Linked DNA regions of Homo sapiens: regions 1, 2, 3 and 5 are each linked to region 4. The links are contacts of gene promoters, found by promoter capture Hi-C in human tissues and cell types (Jung and others, 2019). All regions are on one chromosome and are shown on one strand. Each heading gives the region's core, a stretch centred on a gene start or on the middle of the fragment in contact. The rest is flanking DNA. Distances are from core to core; before and after follow the strand shown.

Region 1 (2,700 bases), core at 201-2,700, 390 kb before region 4:
GGCATGGCCGTCCTCTGAGGCCAGGGTAGAAGAGGGCAAATAGGACTGGAGCCGGGCTCGGAAAGGTCAGCAGGAGATAGGATTCCAGAGAGCAGAGGTTCGGTTGATGTGACTGTCAGAACAGGAGCAAGGCCAGAGTGGCTGCCAGGGATCCTGGGCGCACAGGAGTCTCTGGTGAATGCTAGTAGACCACGGTATTCCCAGGGGCCACGGAAGCCCCAACACTGCTTGACTGCGCTAAGCAAAGAAAGATCAAAAACAAAAAACGAGCGAACAGGACAGTAATGGCAGCTGCTGATGGAAAATCCCAACCCCTCATCCAGTTTCCAGGCCTAAGCTAGGCCTCAGAACCAGAGGTCACTGACTGAAAGGGAGGCTGGGTCCCCTCCAGACCACAAATATTTGCAGTAGTAGGCTCCTAATCTTTCCCCAAAGGGGCCGACAGCATTTCCAAGAAGCAACTGTACACTGGGAAAAGAGAAATAGTAGATACATCAAGGGCTGGCGGGTACACAGTCTGAGAGGCCCTTTGGAGTCCAGAAAAGTGGAGTCCTTGGACTTCATTTCTCCCCTATCTACACTTGCTCCCTTGGCGATCACACCCTCTCATAACTTTCTTTTTTTTTCTCTTTCTTTTTTTTTTGAGACAGAGTCTCGCTCTGTTGCCCAGGCTGGATTGCAGTGGGGCGATCTTGGCTAACTGCAATCTCCGCCTCCTGGGTTCAAGCGATTCTCCTGCCTCAGCCTCCCGAGTAGCTGGAATTACAGGCATGCACTACCACGCCCGGCTACTTTTTGTACCTAGTAGACACGGGGTTTCACCATGTTGGCCAGGCTGGTCTGGAACTCCTGACCTCAAGTGATCCGCCCCCCTCGGCCTCCCAAATTGCTGGGATTACAGGCATGAATCACCGCACCCGGCTCCTCTCGTAACTGTCAATAACCTATCCATGGCCAGTCCCGTGTGTATTGCTCCAGGCCTGACATCTCTGATGTTCAGTCTGTTCAGTCTCATATCTAAGTGCCCACCTGACATGTCCCCTGAGTGGCCTAATGGGCATCTCACCACGGCTCACAGAGAACTGATCTACTCCATTTTCACCCCCAAGCAGGCCCCTCTCCTGCAGTCTTCCCATCTCAGTCAATGGCAACACCATCCTCTTAGTTGCTCAGACTGAAAACCTAGCAGCCATCCTGGATTTCTCTCACACTGCCTATTCAACGTGTGAATGCATGAGTGGAAAGCTGAGTTCGCACTCGTGACTGGCCGGGGTCAACTCTGACATTCGCTCCCACTTTCGCGCGCTGATTTATCTCTGAGCGGATGAAGGTTGGGCCATGGCGGGCGGGGCCGGGGAGGCGGGCTTGGAGTGAGGGGGCGGGGCAGGCGCCACGAAAACGCGCTCGCGCCGGCGCCGAACCGCAACTCCCGGCGGCCCCCGCGCTCCCGGGTGGCAAGATGGTGGCGCGCAGGAGGAAGTGCGCCGCGCGGGACCCGGAGGACCGTATCCCCAGCCCACTGGGCTACGCAGGTGAGGGGCTCCGGGACGCGAGACCGGGGGCGGTCAGGCATCGCCGGGAGGTGTTTGGGGGTTGGCGACGGCCGGGGGTCCCCAGGAGCGGCCGCACGGTTGGGTGTGAGCCCCGGTGGCCCGTGGCCCCAGGCTCCGCAGGTCTTGAGGCTCCGGGGTCCCGAGGACCCAGGCGGCGCCCTTCTGCCTGCTCACTCTCCCGGGGCGAGCCCAACTTGGTCCACGCTTCCCTTGGGTGAGCCCGCCTCTGTCCACACTCTCACCCAGGACAAACCCATTTCCGTCCACACCCGCTCGTCCAGGTGAGCCCATCCCCTTCTCATCGCCTCTGCTCCTAGTCCATCCCCCATCAGCTCTTACCTGGGCTGTTATAGGCCCTCCTACTCGGTTGCCCTCCTTCTCCTCTTGCCCCTGCTTCTGTTCTCCACCCACGTGCCAGAATGTTCTTTTAAGGACATTTAGATTCGATCATGTCTGCCGCGCCCACGATAGGCGCCACACCTACTGCATTCCCTCCAGTGGCTTTATCAGGTAGCTTCTAAAACAAAAACCAGACTTCTTAACCTGTGTGGGCCACGTGGTCTGGCTGGTGCCGACCTAAAGCTCTTTCTGTTCCTCTGAGGGAACATGCTTTTTCCCCCCTCTGGGTTTTTGCACGTGCTGTGCCGGTTTGTTGCACAGTGGCGTTCTGGCCTGAGCTTTAATGTTGCTTCCTCAAAGAGGCCATCCGTGATGGCCTATGGAAAGAAGACCTCTGCCACCCCATCACCCTGTAATGTTTCTTTCACAATTGATACAAGTTTGCTGTATGCTTGTTAATTGTCTTCTCCGTTATTGCAACTGAGCTTCCTGAGTTCAGGGACCGCAGCTCTACGCCAACCGGTACTGTGACGGAGGTGTGAGAAAAATAGAAGCAGTTCCTAGCTTTATGAGGATTACAGTCATGGGTGTGCCAGCGATTAACCAAAGAATCTCATCAATATAGCCTCCAGACTGTTAAGAGAAGCTGTGAAGGCACAGGCAGTGGGATCTGAGCTGGCAGGAGGGGCGGAGGTGATGCTAAGGCTCTCCTGAGGAAGCGAGGTTTGAGCTAAACCTGAGGTGAGCGGGAGGGAAGAGGGTGACACGCCAGGTAGAGAGGCCAGCATGTGTGAGGCCCTGGTGTACC
Region 2 (2,700 bases), core at 118-2,617, 370 kb before region 4:
TGCACGCTTGCAATTTCAGCTACTCAGGAGGCTGAGGCAGGAGAATCGCTCGAACTTGGGGGATGGAGGTTGCAGTGGGCCCAGATCGCGGCAGTGCACTCCAGCCTGGGTGACAGAGTGAGTTAAAAAGAAAAAAAAAATAGCAGATTCTCACCAATGTGCAGGAACCCAGAGAATATTGTTCCCAAAGCCTTTCCTGAGGAATTACTAGAAAATAAGCTTCAGACAACCAACGAGACTAAAAAGACATTGACATTAGCCTGGTGTGAACATTAAAGATATATTTACATGGAGAACCAAGAGAAGATGAGGAGTAAAAAGGAGAGGATGGAGTGTAATGGTTACATTCGCCAACAACATAGACAAAGTACAGCTATAAATAGGGGGAGAAAATGGTGTGGGCATATCTTTAAAGTGTGTGTGTGTGTGTGTGTGTGTGTGTGTGTGTGTGTTTTGTTTTTTGTTTTTTGGCCAGGGACGGTGGCTCAGGCTTGTAGTCTCAGCACTTTGGGAGGCCAAGGCAGGTGGGTGGCTTGAGGTCAGGAGTTCGAGACCAGCCTGGCCGATGTGGCGCAACTTCATTGTAGGGAGACCCCCTGAAACTATTGCTATGGAATAAAAGATGAAATGCTCCTGATTATTGTAAATACAAAATTGCATGCAGGATTGTGTAAAGACAATGCCAGGTTGGACTGCCAGAATGAGCCAATAGCACGTGATGTGCTTCCCCCTGCAGAGAGCCTATGAATGGACTTGCAGTCAGGGAAGTTTCACATCACCAAGATTCGTATCCCAGCAAAGCAGATGTTCATAGCTCTGGGAATGGAATGCGACCCTTGTGGAGAGCCTATAAATGGACGCATAGGGGGTGCCTGTCCATATGGATAAGATAGGGCTATAAACGCCCTCATCTTGCCGTGGCTCTTCTAGGCCTCTTTAGGGTTAAGGCATACTCCCTTCTGAGAATTTCTGGTCTAACCGGTTGTCTAGCTTCCTGTTTCCATGGATTGTTTGTAACCAGCTTTTGTTGCAGTTTTTACTACTGATTAAAATCTTGCTAATCATAGGTTATGGAAAGACTGTGTTTCTGTTTTAAGGCTCTGTTAGAAATTACTGACGCACACACTATGTTGTAAATTCTTATCTCTGTATACTATACTTCTACATACAAATGTACTGTACTTCTACATACAAATGTTATGTTAAAGAATTGCTTCATCCCCATGTGACCATCTCACCTCATAATCAAATGACCCTAAATCCCTCACTAACCTACCCCCGACCTCACTAAACTTAATAATAAATGCTGGTATATCCCGTGCATTGTTGGCACTGAGGGACCAGAAGGCAGTGACCCCCCTGGACCCAGCTTTCACTATCTTGTGTGTGTCTATTATTTCTCAACCTGCCAATCCGCTTGGGAACAAAGAGAGAGCCCCGTTGCATTGCAGGCTGCTGGCCAGATCCTGCAATACTTCATCTCTACTAAAATACAAAAATTAGCCAGGTGTGGTGGTGGGCGCCTGTAATCCCAGTTACTTGGGAGGCTGGGGCAGGAGAATCACTTGAACCCAGGAGGTAGAGGTTGCAGTGAGCTGAGATCACACCATTGCACTCCAGCCTGGGTGACAGAGCAAGACTCCGTCTCAAAGAAAAAAAAAAGTAATAATAATACTAAAGTAAAATAAAATGTTTTGGAACTGTTTTTAGTGATCATATGGACTGGTAATGTTATATTTTTATTCTAAGAATGTTTTCGAACATGGGACAAAGCAATTAGTAATTATGTGATATTCAAATTCTATCATCCCCAGTGGCCAGAGAACTGAATTCTTGGTGTAGGGAAAAGGAGTTACAGATGTGAAATAGAAGAGAATGAGTAACATCTTGTCTCCTGAATTTGAATCAGAAGTATCAGTATGTTTCATGAGGCATCTTATCTTAAAAAAAATACACAAATTCACATATACATATACACACACACACAAACACCTTGTAGCTGTGTACTTAGAAAGAGTCTTAACAAAAACATAAAAAGCTTAATCTGATTAACACTCTAGATGCAATGATCAATTTACAGGAGGAAAAAATGAAACCTGTTAACCTATACCACAGGAATGTAACCAGCAAAATCCAGACTATGGGAAGCGATACAAATTAACCATCCCAAATTTTTCAATAAAAAATTGAGAGAGAATAAAGAGATGCAGGGGGAATCTATAGATTGAAAGAGACTCTTAAAAGCAGGCAGTACTAACTATAATATTTAGGGAGACTATATTAATTTTCTATGCTGTGCAACAAGTTACTACAAATTTAGCAGATTTTTTTCTTTTTTTTTGAGATGGAGCCTCATACTGTTGCCAGGCAGTGGTGCAATCCTGGCTCACTGCAAACTCTGCCTCCTGGGTTCAAGCGATTCTCCTGCCTCAGCCTCCCGAGTAGCTTGGAATGACAGGCATGCGCCACCACGTCCAGCTAATTTTGTATATTTAGTAGAGACGAGGTTTCACCATGTTAGCCAGGCTGATCTCGAACTCCCGACCTTAGGTGATCAGCCCGCCTTGGTCTCCTAAAGTGCTGGGATTGCAGGCGCAAGCCACTGCGCCCGGCCCTTTTTTTTTTTTTTTTTTTTTTTTAAGACAGAGTTTCACTCTTGTTGCCCAGGCTAGAGTGCAGTGGCAGGATCTCGGCCCACTG
Region 3 (2,700 bases), core at 195-2,694, 340 kb before region 4:
GCATCATTATCCTGCCAAGTGGAAAAAATTGGCATAAGCAGGGAAGAATTAAGAGGGACAAGAGGCTCATGATGGGGACTCTTGTTCTGTTGTCTTGGGAAAAGCCACCCACAGCATGAAGCCATCAACTGCTTGTCCTGGTTTACAGTTAGACTGTCTCTGCTCATGGCATGAGGCAGTCCAGTGAACTTTCTATATGGTCCATAGATCACACACAAGACTCATCCCTTAAAATTCATTTAGTTTCAGCTTATAGTGCCTTAGGAACAGAGCAATTCCCATTCTTAGTATTCTATGGAAGAAAGTTGGATTGGAGGAACCAAAAATAATTTAGGGTCAGGTGGGTACGGTGGCTCACGCCTGTAATCCCAGCATCCCGTGCACGCCTCAACCAGGGTAAAAATCTTTATGCTGTATGCAGGCAGATGTGCACAGAAATAGAACTAAAAATGGTCTATAACTGATTCCCTTGAGCTCGCAAGTCCCCACTCTTGCTCACGGCAAAAGAGAGAAAGGAAATAACACCAGGAACATGCTCATCAGAGCTAACTCAGCCTCTTCAGTCTTCCAAAACTCCCTTCCTCATTAACGCGTCAAGATTAAAGTTCAAGTTCAGGTTCAAGTTCCGATCAAGTGTCTCTCCCTGCTCCTTTCTGAGATGCTGCTAGGGTGCGGGGTAACTAGGGCACCCTCCTGGCTCCTGCCTCTCAGCCATGGCCAGGGCGGTTCCTGGACCTTCCGTCCTGGTGTCCACGAGGCGATACCATCATGCATTATTCTCAACCTCCAGCCCAGGGCTCCCAGCCTGGCCTCTGTACCCCAATCTCAGTCTTTTGATTCATCAGGGCCTGGGCTGCTTTTCCCACTCCACACTAGAGAGTGTAGGCTGGGTGTAGCCTCACACTAGATCTGTGAGGCTGCCTTCCAGGCCACTGTCCTAGACCCTTTCCTGGCCATTTCCAAAGCATGCCTGAGCAGCCCCTGTCGTTCTGCTGCCATGCTCACCGCAGGCCTTGCTACCACTGTGTTAACCCCGAGGAGGGAATCAGGACGCTGACATCTGATCTCCTGTGTCTTCCTACTGATGGGAACTTCCCTAAGTCACACCTTCAGACCCTGTGCACTGCTTATAATCCAAGTCCAGGATTCTGTTATTTACGTCTTAAAGCAGAGCCTTTGGAATTTAGAAAATCTCTTTTTTCTCTGAAAGCTCAGTTTCAAGACTACCGAATCACATGCACTTGGAGTCAGTCTTAATACTTAAAAGTGAAAGCGTCTTTCTTTCTCATCACCTACCTACTATGAAAATCATAATTATCCTTGAGGCCAACAGAAGCTTCTGACTGAATAAGAGAAGGAAAAAATATTAATACATCTAAGATAGTATCTGGCCAGGTGCGGTGGCTCATGCCTGTAATCCCAGCACTTTGGGAGGCTGAGGTGGGCAGGTCATTTGAGGTCAGGAGTTCGAGGCCAGTCTGGCCAACATAGTGAAACCCTGTCTCTACTAAAAATACCAAAAAGAAAAAAAAAAAAAAGAGCCTGGCATGGTGGCACACACCTGTAATCCCAGCTACTCGGGAGGCTGAGGCACGAGAATCGCTTGAACCCAGGAGATGGAGGTTGCAGTGAGCCAAGATTGCACCACTGCACTCCCGCCTGGGTTACAGAGTGAAACCCTGTCTCGAAAAAAAAAAAAAAGATAGTATCCCTCTTTTACTTGTAGCATAGCACTTATCACAAATGTACTAGAATTGTTCCATATCTGTCATCCTAAATAGAGAGGAATTACTTAAAGGAAGGGCACAAATCTTACTCACTTTTTATGTCAAGTGCCTAAATATTGTGCCTGGCACTTTATACGCTCCCAGAAACTATTGGATAGATGGATAGGTGGATGAGTGTGTGGATGGGTGGGTGGATGGTGGATGGATGGATGGATGGATGGATGGATATGTGTGTGGGTGGATGGATGGGTGGATGGGTGAAAGGATGGGTGGGTGGGTAAGTGGATAGGTGGGTAGGTGGGTGAAAGGTTGGTGGATGAGTGGATGGGTGGATGAGTGAGTTGTTGGCTGGATGGGTGAGTGGATGGATGGATGGGTGGGTGGATGGATGGGTGGGTAGATGGGTAGTGGATGAGTACATGGGTGGATAGATCAAAAATAAAATGGGGATAAAAGGGATTGGAGATAGGCAAAGGAAGAGGTCATACTTTTTTCCTTGATGCCAACAATAAAAACTCTTAAAGCGTCTTACATGTACCATGACTTGCATCCAGACAACAGGAGACTTCTTGCCAACAGCCACATGAGTAAACCTCCTTGGAAGAAGATCCTCCAGATCTAGTCAAGCCTTCGGATGACTGCAGCCCCAGTGGACACCTTGACTGCAACCTCATTAAGATCTTGAACCAGAACCACCCAGATAAGCCACTCCCAAATTCTTGACCCACAAAAATCGTGAGATAATAAAAGCATCCATTGCTTTAAACCACTAAGTTTTGGGATACTTTGATATGCATCGATAATTAATAAACCTAGCAAACTTCAGCCTGTATCTCATTGTCCAAAACTGTGTCACTTGGCCACCCTGAGATACAGAGGGAGCTGGGAATATAATACGATAGTTGTAGTCATTTTAAAAGGACCATATTAGAACAAAATCGTGGTTCTATTCTTAAGGAAGTGGGGCAGAATG
Region 4 (2,700 bases), core at 201-2,700:
TAGCCTGGCCAACATGGTGAAACCCTATCTCTACTGAAAATACAAAAAGCTAGACGTGGTGGCACACACCTGTAATCCCAGCTACTTAGGAGGCTGAGGCAGGAGAATTGCTTGAAGCCTAGAGGTGAAGGTTGTAGTGAGCCGAGATTGCATCATTGCACAATGGAGGGGAGCCACCAGCCTGGGCAACAAGAGGAAATCTCCGTCTCCAAAAAAAAAAAAAAAAAAAAAAGAATTAGGCTGGGTGGTGCCTGTAGTCCCAGCTACTTGGGAGGCAGGGGGTCCACTTGATGTCGAGACTGCAGTGAGCCATGATCCTGCCACTGCACTCCGGCCTGGGCAACAGAGTGAGACCCTGTCTAAAGAAAAAAAAAATAAAGCAACATATCCTGAACAAAGGATCCTCCATAACGTTCCCACCAGATTTCTAATCAGAAACATGGAGGCCAGAAAGCAGTGGAGGAGGACGACCCTCAGGCAGCCCGGGAGGATGTTGTCACAGGCTGGGGCAAGGGCCTTCCGGCTACCAACTGGGAGCTCTGGGAACAGCCCTGTTGCAAACAAGAAGCCATAGCCCGGCCAGAGCCCAGGAATGTGGGCTGGGCTGGGAGCAGCCTCTGGACAGGAGTGGTCCCATCCAGGAAACCTCCGGCATGGCTGGGAAGTGGGGTACTTGGTGCCGGGTCTGTATGTGTGTGTGACTGGTGTGTGTGAGAGAGAATGTGTGCCCTAAGTGTCAGTGTGAGTCTGTGTATGTGTGAATATTGTCTTTGTGTGGGTGATTTTCTGCGTGTGTAATCGTGTCCCTGCAAGTGTGAACAAGTGGACAAGTGTCTGGGAGTGGACAAGAGATCTGTGCACCATCAGGTGTGTGCATAGCGTCTGTGCATGTCAAGAGTGCAAGGTGAAGTGAAGGGACCAGGCCCATGATGCCACTCATCATCAGGAGCTCTAAGGCCCCAGGTAAGTGCCAGTGACAGATAAGGGTGCTGAAGGTCACTCTGGAGTGGGCAGGTGGGGGTAGGGAAAGGGCAAGGCCATGTTCTGGAGGAGGGGTTGTGACTACATTAGGGTGTATGAGCCTAGCTGGGAGGTGGATGGCCGGGTCCACTGAAACCCTGGTTATCCCAGAAGGCTTTGCAGGCTTCAGGAGCTTGGAGTGGGGAGAGGGGGTGACTTCTCCGACCAGGCCCCTCCACCGGCCTACCCTGGGTAAGGGCCTGGAGCAGGAAGCAGGGGCAAGAACCTCTGGAGCAGCCCATACCCGCCCTGGCCTGACTCTGCCACTGGCAGCACAGTCAACACAGCAGGTTCACTCACAGCAGAGGGCAAAGGCCATCATCAGCTCCCTTTATAAGGGAAGGGTCACGCGCTCGGTGTGCTGAGAGTGTCCTGCCTGGTCCTCTGTGCCTGGTGGGGTGGGGGTGCCAGGTGTGTCCAGAGGAGCCCATTTGGTAGTGAGGCAGGTATGGGGCTAGAAGCACTGGTGCCCCTGGCCGTGATAGTGGCCATCTTCCTGCTCCTGGTGGACCTGATGCACCGGCGCCAACGCTGGGCTGCACGCTACCCACCAGGCCCCCTGCCACTGCCCGGGCTGGGCAACCTGCTGCATGTGGACTTCCAGAACACACCATACTGCTTCGACCAGGTGAGGGAGGAGGTCCTGGAGGGCGGCAGAGGTGCTGAGGCTCCCCTACCAGAAGCAAACATGGATGGTGGGTGAAACCACAGGCTGGACCAGAAGCCAGGCTGAGAAGGGGAAGCAGGTTTGGGGGACGTCCTGGAGAAGGGCATTTATACATGGCATGAAGGACTGGATTTTCCAAAGGCCAAGGAAGAGTAGGGCAAGGGCCTGGAGGTGGAGCTGGACTTGGCAGTGGGCATGCAAGCCCATTGGGCAACATATGTTATGGAGTACAAAGTCCCTTCTGCTGACACCAGAAGGAAAGGCCTTGGGAATGGAAGATGAGTTAGTCCTGAGTGCCGTTTAAATCACGAAATCGAGGATGAAGGGGGTGCAGTGACCCGGTTCAAACCTTTTGCACTGTGGGTCCTCGGGCCTCACTGCTCACCGGCATGGACCATCATCTGGGAATGGGATGCTAACTGGGGCCTCTCGGCAATTTTGGTGACTCTTGCAAGGTCATACCTGGGTGACGCATCCAAACTGAGTTCCTCCATCACAGAAGGTGTGACCCCCACCCCCGCCCCACGATCAGGAGGCTGGGTCTCCTCCTTCCACCTGCTCACTCCTGGTAGCCCCGGGGGTCGTCCAAGGTTCAAATAGGACTAGGACCTGTAGTCTGGGGTGATCCTGGCTTGACAAGAGGCCCTGACCCTCCCTCTGCAGTTGCGGCGCCGCTTCGGGGACGTGTTCAGCCTGCAGCTGGCCTGGACGCCGGTGGTCGTGCTCAATGGGCTGGCGGCCGTGCGCGAGGCGCTGGTGACCCACGGCGAGGACACCGCCGACCGCCCGCCTGTGCCCATCACCCAGATCCTGGGTTTCGGGCCGCGTTCCCAAGGCAAGCAGCGGTGGGGACAGAGACAGATTTCCGTGGGACCCGGGTGGGTGATGACCGTAGTCCGAGCTGGGCAGAGAGGGCGCGGGGTCGTGGACATGAAACAGGCCAGCGAGTGGGGACAGCGGGCCAAGAAACCACCTGCACTAGGGAGGTGTGAGCATGGGGACGAGGGCGGGGC
Region 5 (2,700 bases), core at 79-2,578, 320 kb before region 4:
TTAATTCCATTGTAAGAGAGCATACTTTGAATGACTTGAGTCCCTTTAAATGTACTGAGACTTGTTTAATGTCTCAGAATATTGTCTATGTTGGTAAATATTCTGTGTGAACTTGAGAGGAATGTGTATTCTGCTGTTGTTGGGTAAAGTGTTTTATAAATGTCCATTGGATCGAGTTGGTTGATAATGTTGTTCAAATCTTCTATATATTTGCTGGTTTTCTGTCTATTCATTCTATCAATTTCTATGTATTTATTCAGAGGTGGGATCTCACTATGTTGTCCAGACTAGACTCAAGTCCTGGGCTAAAGTGCTTCTCCTGCCACAGCCTCCTGAGTAGCTGGGACTACAGGTGATACACGGCTATACCCAGCTATTCTATCAATTCTATCAATTATTGAAAGCAGGGTATTGACATCTTCAACTATGATTGTCAACTTTTCCATTTCTCTTTGCTGTTCTATAAGTTTTTGCTTCAAGTGTTTTGAAGCTCTGTTATTAGGTACATAAACGTTTAGAATTGTTATGTCCTCTGGAATAACTGACCCCTTAATCATTATTGAATTAACCTCTTTATCCCTGGTAATGTCTTCTGCTATACAATCTACTTGGTCTGATATTGATAAGCCACGCTAGCTTTTTTTGGATTTGTGATAGCATGGTAGGTATGTCTTTTTCCATCCTTCTACTTTTAACCTATTTGTGTCTTTATATTTGAAGTGTGTTTCTTATAAATAGGATACTGAATCTTTTTTTAATCCAATCTGACAATCTCTGCCTTTAAATTTGGACATTTTCTTTTCTTTCCTTTTTTTTTTTTTTTTAGAAAGGGTCTCACTCTGTCACCCAGGCTGGAGTGTAGTGGTGCGCAATTGTGGCTCACTGCAGCCTTCACTTCCTGGGCTCAAGTGATCCTCCTGCCTCAGCCTCCGCAGTAGCTGGGACTACAGGTGCACACCACCACACCCGGCTAAATATTGTATTTTTTGTAGAGATAGGGTTTCACCATGTTGGCCAGGCCTAGACCATTTACTTTTTATTTTATTATTCATTTATTTATTTTGAGACAGAGTCTCGCTCTGTCACCCAGGCTGGAGTACAGTGGAGCGATCCACCAACCTCTGCCTCCCAAGGTGCTGGGATTACAGTCATGAGCCACCGCATCCAGCCTGAACTCATTGTATTTATTGTAGTTTCTTAAATAGATGGAGTGTGTATGTGGAGAATCAGAAATACACTACTTTTAGGTTCTTTTTTTTGGGAGGGTGGGGAGTGGGGATAGGGTCTTGCTCTGTTGCCCAGGTTGGAGTGCAGTGGCACAATCATGGCTCACTGCAGCCTTGACTTCCTGGGCTCAAGCGATCCCAAGTAGCTGAGACTACAGGCATGTACTACCATACCCAGCTAATTTTTTACATTTTTTTGTAGAGATGGGGTGTCACTGGTCTCAAACTTGTGGGCTCAAGCAATCTACCCTCCTCAGCCTCCCAAAGTGCTGGGATTACAGGCATAAGCCACCGCACCTGGCCAATGTTCTTATGCTTTATATTAAGTAGTATATTGGCTGGGCATGGTGGCTCATGCCTGTAATTCCAGCACTTTGGGAGGCTGAGGCAGGCGGATCACAAGGTCAGGAGATAGAGACCATCCTGGCGAACACGGTGAAACCCTGTCTCTACTAAAAATACAAAAAATTAGCCGGGCATGGTGGCAGGCACCTGTAGTCCCAGCTACTTGGGAGACTGAGACAGGAGAATGGCGTGAACCCGGGAGGCAGAGCTTGCAGTGAGCCAAGATTGCGCCACTGCACTCCAGCCTGAGGGACAGAGCGAGACTGTCTAAAAAAAAAAAAAAAAAGGTAGCATATTATCACTTAAAGGTAGATTGTGATTGGCAGGGCACGGTGGCTCACGCCTGTAATCCCAGCATTTTGGGAGCCCGAAGTGGGTGGATCATGAGGTCAGGAGTTTGAGACCAGCCTGACCAACATGGTGAAACTCCATCTCTACTAAAAGTACAAAATTTAGCCAGGTGTGGTGGTGGACACCTGTAATCCCAACTACTCAAGAGGCTGAGGCAGGTGAATTGCTTGAACCCAGGAGACAGAGGTTGCAGTTCACACCATTGCACTCCATCCTGGGCAACAGAGCGAGACTCTTGTCTCAAAAACAAAAAAAAGAAGGTAGATTATGATTAATTGAAGTTGAACAAAAATCAACTAGGAAATACTTTTTTTTTTTTCTTTTTTGAGACAGGGCCTCACTCTGTCACCCAGGCTGGAGTGCAGTGGTGCAATCTCGACTCACTGCAAACTCCACCTCTCAGGCCCAGGTCATCCTCCCACCTCAGCCTCCCAAGCAGCCTCCAAGCACCTGCACCACCACATCTGGCTAATTTTGTATTTTTTGTAGAGATGGGGTTTTGTCATATTGCCCAGGCTGGTCTCAAATTCTTGGGCTTAGTTGACCTGCCCACCTCAGCCTCCCAAAGTGCTGGGATCGCAGGCATGAGCCGCCGCCCTGGCCTGGGAATTTTTTTTTTTCAATTTAAATTTGATTTAGAACTAAATAAAGCATTTACATGATGGCAAAGTCAAAACTGAAGAACAAGGTGTATTAAAGAGGTCTGCTTCCATCCCCTCTATACTGTTACTGATTTTTTTCCTTGGCGTGGTCTTATTTTTTAGATTTTAGGTTCAAG

What was found. Contacts are between HindIII fragments. The study calls those that stand out against the background at their distance.
Region 1: the fragment with the promoter of RRP7A here is called in contact with the fragment with the promoter of CYP2D6 in region 4 in 2 of the 25 tissues and cell types used here (hippocampus and lymphoblastoid cells).
Region 2: a contact is called between a fragment that was not itself captured here and the fragment with the promoter of CYP2D6 in region 4, in 2 of the 25 tissues and cell types used here (IMR-90 fibroblasts and spleen).
Region 3: a contact is called between a fragment that was not itself captured here and the fragment with the promoter of CYP2D6 in region 4, in 4 of the 25 tissues and cell types used here (IMR-90 fibroblasts, lymphoblastoid cells, mesendoderm cells and 1 more).
Region 5: a fragment that was not itself captured here is called in contact with the fragment with the promoter of CYP2D6 in region 4 in 1 of the 25 tissues and cell types used here (dorsolateral prefrontal cortex).

What each region holds. Positions count from the first base shown.
Region 1 is chr22:42,518,546-42,521,245 of GRCh38, reverse strand. RRP7A (ribosomal RNA processing 7 homolog A) reads left to right here and starts at 1,450. Exons shown (of 7, transcript NM_015703.5): 1 at 1,450-1,532. The coding sequence starts at 1,460. LOC124900479 (a long non-coding RNA gene) reads right to left here. Exons shown (of 3, transcript XR_007068117.1): 1 at 1,893-2,700. RefSeq lists enhancers at 249-543, 1,069-1,128 and silencers at 1,309-1,368, 1,389-1,558, 1,569-1,698. The HindIII fragment of the contact is 27,172 bases long and covers 1-2,700 here.
Region 2 is chr22:42,497,058-42,499,757 of GRCh38, reverse strand. No RefSeq gene overlaps it. Among named protein-coding and RNA genes, the nearest start is that of RRP7A, 21 kb to the left of the region's middle. RefSeq lists enhancers at 1-473, 559-1,079 and a silencer at 681-975. The HindIII fragment of the contact is 5,441 bases long and covers 1-2,700 here.
Region 3 is chr22:42,470,937-42,473,636 of GRCh38, reverse strand. No RefSeq gene overlaps it. Among named protein-coding and RNA genes, the nearest start is that of NFAM1, 40 kb to the right of the region's middle. The HindIII fragment of the contact is 3,065 bases long and covers 1-2,700 here.
Region 4 is chr22:42,129,560-42,132,259 of GRCh38, reverse strand. It overlaps CYP2D6 (cytochrome P450 family 2 subfamily D member 6 (gene/pseudogene)), which reads left to right and starts at 1,450. Exons shown (of 9, transcript NM_000106.6): 1 at 1,450-1,648; 2 at 2,351-2,522. The coding sequence starts at 1,469. RefSeq lists a cis regulatory region at 154-165 and promoters at 1-1,391, 978-1,444. The HindIII fragment of the contact is 22,528 bases long and covers 1-2,700 here.
Region 5 is chr22:42,454,102-42,456,801 of GRCh38, reverse strand. No RefSeq gene overlaps it. Among named protein-coding and RNA genes, the nearest start is that of NFAM1, 23 kb to the right of the region's middle. The HindIII fragment of the contact is 8,803 bases long and covers 1-2,700 here.